Regions from separate parts of the Homo sapiens genome. Here region 1 is linked to region 2. The links are contacts of gene promoters, found by promoter capture Hi-C in human tissues and cell types (Jung and others, 2019). All regions are on one chromosome and are shown on one strand. The core of a region is centred on a gene start or on the middle of the fragment in contact, and the rest is flanking DNA. Distances in the headings are between cores, read along the strand shown.

Evidence for each region. Contacts are between HindIII fragments. The study calls those that stand out against the background at their distance.
Region 1: a fragment that was not itself captured here is called in contact with the fragment with the promoter of ABCA3 in region 2 in 2 of the 25 tissues and cell types used here (dorsolateral prefrontal cortex and hippocampus).

Annotation. Positions count from the first base shown.
Region 1 is chr16:2,918,963-2,922,417 of GRCh38, forward strand. The region is part of intron 2 of FLYWCH1 (FLYWCH-type zinc finger 1); the gene reads left to right. Among named protein-coding and RNA genes, the nearest start is that of FLYWCH1, 8.8 kb to the left of the region's middle. The HindIII fragment of the contact is 4,857 bases long and covers 1-3,455 here.
Region 2 is chr16:2,339,393-2,342,794 of GRCh38, forward strand. ABCA3 (ATP binding cassette subfamily A member 3) reads right to left here and starts at 1,336. Exons shown (of 33, transcript NM_001089.3): 1 at 1,181-1,336. It also overlaps the pseudogene ABCA17P. RefSeq lists silencers at 957-1,016, 1,187-1,646. The HindIII fragment of the contact is 11,234 bases long and covers 1-3,402 here.

The DNA.
Region 1 (3,455 bases), core at 943-3,442, 580 kb after region 2:
TTTGAGGCAGAGTCTCCCTCTTTTGCCCAGGCTGGAGTGCAGTGGCATGATCTCGGCTCACTGCAACCTCCAAAGCAATTCTTCTGCCTCCACCTCCCAAGTAGCTGGGATTACAGGTGCTCACCACCACTCCTGATTAATCTTTTGTGTTTTAGTAGATGTTATCCAAGGTGGTCTCGATCTCCTGACGTTGTGATCCACCCACCTCAGCCTCCCAAAGTGCTGGGATTACAGGCGTGAGCCACCACACCCAGCTGCTCTCTGATATATGCGTGTATATTTATTCATTTGTTTTAATTTTTTGTTTCTTTTTTTTTTTTTGAGACGGAGTCTTGCTTTGTCTCCCAGGCTGGAGTACAGTGGTATGGTCTCGGCTCACTGCAACCTCTGCCCCCTGGGTTCAAGCGATTCTCCTGCCTCAGCCTCCCGAGTAGTTGGGATTACAGGCATGCGCCACCACACCCAGCTAATTTTTGTATTTTTAGTAGAGACGGGGTTTCACCATGTTTGCCAGGATGGTTTCGATCTCTTGACCTCGTGATCCGCCTGCCTTGGCCTGCCGAAGTGCTGGGATTACAGGCGTGAGCCACCGCGTCTGGCCTATTTTTTGTTTCTTGAGATGGGGTCATGTGATGTTGCCCAGATTGGCTTCAAACTCCTGGGCTCAAGCCATTTTCCTGCCACAACCTCCCAAGTGGCTGGGACTACACATACGCACCACCATGCCCAGCTCGAAGTACTACTTTTTGTAAATATAACATTTTGGAAATCCTCTTGAATTTTTTTTCCAACTTGGAAAAATTTCCAAATTCTTGTTTGAAAACATTGCCACCCGTGTAATTTTACCAAGGCAATAGGAACATTTCAGGAGCAACACCACCATCTTGTGGCCATATGGAGTATTGCTGCTGAGGATTTAAATTTGCGCTTCCCCCGTGACGGGTGGTCCTGCCTTATGTAATGGTCCTTTGGAAAGACTCCAGGTGGCCTCTGGTGGGGGCTTCCTGCTCTCGAGGGGGATACAGTAGCAGACATGATTGAACGCAGTGTGTGCTACAGAAAAGCAAGCGCCTTAAAGGCATTAGTTCAACAATGGAAGTAGTTGTGCATTTGAGTGGCAGGATTAGGGGTCATTTTAGTATTATAGTCTTAACATTCTGAAATAGTTTCTATATATTTTTAGAATATGATATTAGAACTTAGAAAATTTCACAACATATAATGCATGCCACCCCTTCTTTGATGAGTAAACCAAACCCAAGAACAAGAAGCTTCTGATGTTTAGTAGAGCACCTGTAATCCCAGCACTTTAGGAGGCAGGTAGGTAACTAGAGGCCAGGAGTTCGAGACCAGCCTGGCCAAAATGGTGAAACTCCATCTCTACTAAAAATACAAAACAAAATTTAGCCATGTGTGGTTTCAGGTGCCTATAATCCCAGCTACTCAGGAGGCTGAGGCCTGAGAATCGCTTGACCCAGGAGGCGGAGGTTGCAGTGAGCTAAGATTACGCCATTGCACTCCAGCCTGGGTGGCCGTGAGACTCTGTCTTAAAAAAAAAAAAAAACACTTTTCCACCAAGAGACCCTTGGAATCTGAGTCATTCTGACCATTGTTTGTTTGTTTGTTTTTGTTTTTTTGAGATGGAGTTTTGCTCTTGTTGCCCAGGCTGGAGTGCAATAGCGTGAGCTCCTGCCTCAGCCTCCCGAGTAGCTGGGATTGCAGGCATATGCCACCATGCCTGGCTATTTTTGTATTTTTAGTGGAGACGGGGTTTCTCCATGTTGGTCGGGCTGGTCTCAAACTCCCCACCTCAGGTGATCTGCCCACCTTGGCCTCCCGAAGTGCTAGGATTACAGGCGTGAGCCACAACGCCTGGCCTTTTTTTTTTTTTTTTTTTTTGAGACAGTCTCACTCTGTCGCCCAGGCTGGAGTGCAGTGGCGCGATCTCAGCTCACTGCAACCTCTGCCTCCCGGGTTCAAGCGATTCTTCTGCCTCAGCCTTCCGAGTAGCTGGGACTACAGGCGCCCGCCACCACGCCCAGTTAATTTTTTGTGTTTTTAGTAGAGACGGGGTTTCACTGTGTTAGCCCGGATGGTCTCGATCTGCTGACCCCGTGATCTGCCCGCCTCGGCCTCCCAAAGTGCTGGGATTACAGGCGTGAGCCACCATTCCCAGACAGGGATTGTTTTTCAATAACTTTCCTGAGATATAATTTACATAATACCATATGATTTCTCCATCTAAAGTCTACAATTCATTGCTTTTAATATATTCAGAAAGCTGTCCAAGTATCACCACCATCAATTTTAGGACTTTTTAAGTCTACAATTCATTGCTTTTAATATATTCAGAAAGCTGTCCAAGTATCACCACCATCAATTTTAGGACTTTTTTTTTTTTTGCTTCTAAAGCCAGAGGGAGGATGGTTGCTCCCTTTCTCTGGACAGGGAAGCGGGTGAGAAGAGCTTATAGAGGCATCCATCCGGTGCTTGGGAGGCTGAGGTGGGAGGATCGCTTGATCCCAGGAGTTCAAAACCAACCTGGAAATATAGCAAGACCCTGTCATTACCAAAATATTTTTTTTTAATTTAATTAAAAAACCAGGCTGGGCAACCTGGCAAAACCCCGTCTCTACAAAGAATACAGAAATTAGCCGGGCATGGTAGTGTGCGCCTGTGGTCCCAGCTACTCTGGAGGCTGAGGTGGGAAGATGGCTTGAGCCTGGGAGGCAGAGGCTGTAGTGATCACGCCACCACACTCCGGTTTAGGCTGTAGTGAAATCCTGCCACTAAAATAAAAAATAAAAGGTATTCATTCTGGCCGGGTGTGGTGGCTCACACCTGTAATCCCAGCACTTTGGGAGGCCAAGACAGGCAGATCATGAGGTCGGAAGTTCGAGACCATCCTGGCCAATATGGTGAAACCCCATCTCTACTAAAAAATACAAAAATTTGCTAGGTGTGGTGGCGCGCGCCTGTAGTCCCAGCTACTCAGGAGGCTGAGGCGGGAGAATCACTTGAACCCGGGAGGCAGAGGTTGCAATGAACTGAGATCGTGCCACTGCACTCCTGCCTGGGCAACTGGGTGACAGAGTTAAAAAAAAGAATCCATCTTAAATGGGTACATTTTGAATCAGATAAAAATCATATTCTGAATCATGGCGGGATAACTTTAGTTACTAGAAAATCTACCTTGTAGGGAGAAGCTTATTCACTGATAATGTTAGGGAAATGGGGTGTTTTGTGTATAGTTTGTTACAGATGGCTCGTGTGTGTGTGTGTGTGTGTGTGTAGGGTTAAATATACATGACGTAAAATTTACCATATTGGTCATTCATGTAAATTGCATCCTACAACCCTTGGTCTTTGTGAGCAGCTGCTCTCCCTGAGCCTCGATGTTGAAGTGTCCAGGTCAGCGGTTCACATTCATTGTTCATCCGTCACCACCGTCCATC
Region 2 (3,402 bases), core at 86-2,585:
CAATTTAAAAGAAAAATTATCTAAGAAGTTAAAAATGAAAGTGTGGGGGAGATTCCCATGACATCCATTTTTATCTATTTTTCCCTTTCTCTTACATTTCTCATGAGGCAAACTTTCTAAAACAGTCTTAGTCTTTTCAAGTTTACAAAAGGCAGCGCCCAGACTATCTGAATAAAATGACGGGATGCCCAGGAGAAGAGTGAACCTCTCCCACGTGCTCCCTGCCTGGGCTCCATGCTGTCGCGGGGTCTCGGCTACTCACTCAGCGGGCATTTCTGGAGTTCCAGGAACACAAACCCCAACAAGATCCAATCGACGCCTTCCCGGAGTGCACAGTCCAGGACGTAACCCGGAGAACAAGCGGCAATTACCCCCTGAGGACATGGCTTCATCTGTGCGACAGACACCAAGCGCCTTCCCCACGCCCCTGACCATAAGGCCGTCCCGGCCCTTCTGAAGCGTGGAGCCGGCTTGGAACAGAGCCAAGACACACGGACGCGATGCACACAGGCGTCCTGACCGAGGGCGCCGAGAACGCGGCCTCCGGCGACTGCCACAAGCCCCTCCGCCTGGACTAGCGGCTCCCCTTTCCCGTTCCCACACAGTGGAGGGCGCAGCAAACGCCCGCCGCGGACCGTGGGCCTTGGATTCGGATTTGGAGGCTCCTCGGAACCAGAGGGTGGGAGCAGGCGGAATCCAACCCGGGCGGCTTTGCCACCGCGCGCCCGGCATCCCTGCGGCCGGAAAGCGGCGCCATCTCCGCAAGTGCGCGGCGGACGCCTGCATCCCTCGGGGCCGGGGCTGTCGGTCGCTACATATCCACCTTCTGGGCGCACACAGAGGGCCCGGGCCGTGCCGAGTCTCCGCAGGGTCGAGCTTCCCCGCGCGGCGCGGGCTCAGGCACTGCCCGCAGTGCGGGACACGCCCAAGGCTCGGATGGGAGCCGACGCTGAGGGAGCGGCACCTGCAGGGAGCGCCCGGAGCCGAGGCCGCGGCAGGAGGGGCGGGCGCGGGCGCGGCCGGAGGGGATGCGGGGTCGCGGGAGGGGCCCGCAGGCCAGGCCGGAGCTGGGGGGGGCCCGAGGCCCGAGCTGGCCGGCGAGGGTGGGAAGGGCGGACCCGGGTGGGGACCGCAAGCCCCGGGAACGAGCGCGCGAGCGGCGGGTCCCGGCGGCACTCACCGAGCCTGGGCGCCGGGGCGGCGGCGGCCGGCGCGCGGCCCTCTCGCGGGGTCCCCTCCCTCGGCCACCCGGGCTCCGCTCCAGCCTCGCAGTGGCGGCGGCACTGACAGCTGCGTGGCCGCCCTGGAGGGGAGGGTGCGCCTGCAACCCGCTACTGGCGGACGCAGCGGCCGCTCCGGCTCCTGCAGGGGGCGCCGCGGATGGCGCGTGCGCAGTCGGCCGCCCCTGCAGGTGCCCGGTCCACCCCCGGCCGCCTCGGCCGCTCCGGCCAGCCCAACCCCGCGCCTGCGCGGTGCCCCCTGCATGTCGCCCATGCCCGGCAGAGGGCGCTCTGACTTGCGCGTGCGCAGTCAGCCACCCTGCGAGTACGCGGTTCGCACCCGGCCGCGCGGCAGCCCGTGCTTGCGCACTGCTCTGTGCCCGCGCCTATGTCCAGCAGGGGGCGCGCAGCGGCGGTAGCCGAGCGAGGGCGCGGTGGCCTCTGACAGGAATGACTCTGCGCACGTGCGTTTCGCAGCAGTGGAAGTCTTCACACCCGGAAACTCGACTTTGGCCGTTTCTCCATTTCTCCTCACGCACTGTCTTTCCTTGGGCCCTCGTCACTCCTGGCACCGGGGGAAGGGCTTCCCCGCCTCTGGCCGGGCGCTGGGGCGCGACCGAAGGCGAGGCGGCGGCGAGGAACCTTCTGGAATTCGGCCGTCGGGGCAGGCGTCGAGTTTACAGGAGAAGGCGCGGTGTCCCGGGATGAGCGGAGTCGCCCTCACTTAAGGAGCGAGGGAGGCCTCGGGGGTCCCCAGCCGGGTAGGAGTCACCTCAGGCAGGAGGGCCCGGCCTTGTCGGGGTCACCTGGCGGGAGGGTCCCGGGGTGGGGCGGGGCCGCCTGTGAGGAGGGTCCAGAGAGGGTCGGGGTCACCTGAGGGGAGGGTGGGGGGGTTCGGGGATGGTTGGGGTCACCCGACGGGATGGTCCGGGGAGGGTCGGGTTCACCTGAGGGGAGGGTCGGGGAGGGTCCGGAGAGGGTCGGGGTCACCTGAGGAGGTGGTCCGGAGAGGGTCGGGGTCACCTCACGGAGCGAGCGGAACGGGGTCACCTGGAGGGAGTGTCCAGGGCGGGGGCCCTGCAGGGAGTCGCCTGCAGGGAGGGTCCCGGGCGTGTCACATTAGGCGGTCCCAGGGACGGGTCGCGGTCTAACGGGACGGGAGTGGGGAGGTGGGTCGGGGTGTCCCTGGGCCGGACCGGGTCGTGGGACTGGGTCGCCCCAGGCAGGAGAGCCTGGGAGGGGCGGGCCCCCTTGGCGTGGCAGGGAGAGGTGGAGTGAGGGACTCCCGGGCTCCAGCATGAGGGCGGGCGCCGCGCGGGGCCGACAGTTGCCGCGGGCCGGGGCCAATGGGTCCCCGAGCGCCGCCAGCGGCCGGACCACAGTGAGGTGCGTCCGTGGTCCCGGCGCCCCGGGTGAGGGAGGGCTGCTGCCGGTCCTGCCGCTGGGAGCCGCCTGCGACCCGCACCGCCAGCCCCGCGCCCAGCCAGCCGCCGGCACCACGACCCGACGGCCCCGACCTAATGCAACGCCCCGGGCCGGGGGCGGAAATCGCCCACCCCCAAGAGTCCTGATGGAGTAGGGTTTGAGCGGCTCGTTCCCCATTTTACTGTGTACATAGCACCTTTCACTCTGATGATGTTCTGGATAGCCCATTCCGCGAGCAAAGGGACTTCGTCAGGTTCATGCCTAGATCCAGGGTCCTAGAGTGCCTGGGGCGGAGGAGGCTCATGCTAAATAATTTGTTCAGTGGAATCACAGAGACCTGGCTTCAGATCTTGACCCACCAATTAATGTAGACATGTCATTTTATCTTTCTGAGTCTCAATTTCCTATCCCTAAAATTGAAATTATAATAATAGTAATTAATAATAATAGCAAACTCAAAGGTTTTTTGTTGGTGTATTCTTTTCTTTTTTGGGTCAAATGAGAAAATGCATGTTTAAGTGCTTACTACAATACCTGACACATAAATGCCAAATAAATGGTAGTATATAATGTGAGTATAGCTAGGGATTTACATAGCCTAGTCTCCGTAATGAGCATACAGGGGGAAAAAAAACCCCAAACAATTGAATGCAGTTACAGGATGGGTGGGGGAGTGGATTATTAATGCGCTGCAAACATCCTAAAAACCCCCTTTCCCCATCAGTCTTCACAGACTGCAACACCCCATCCAAAATGT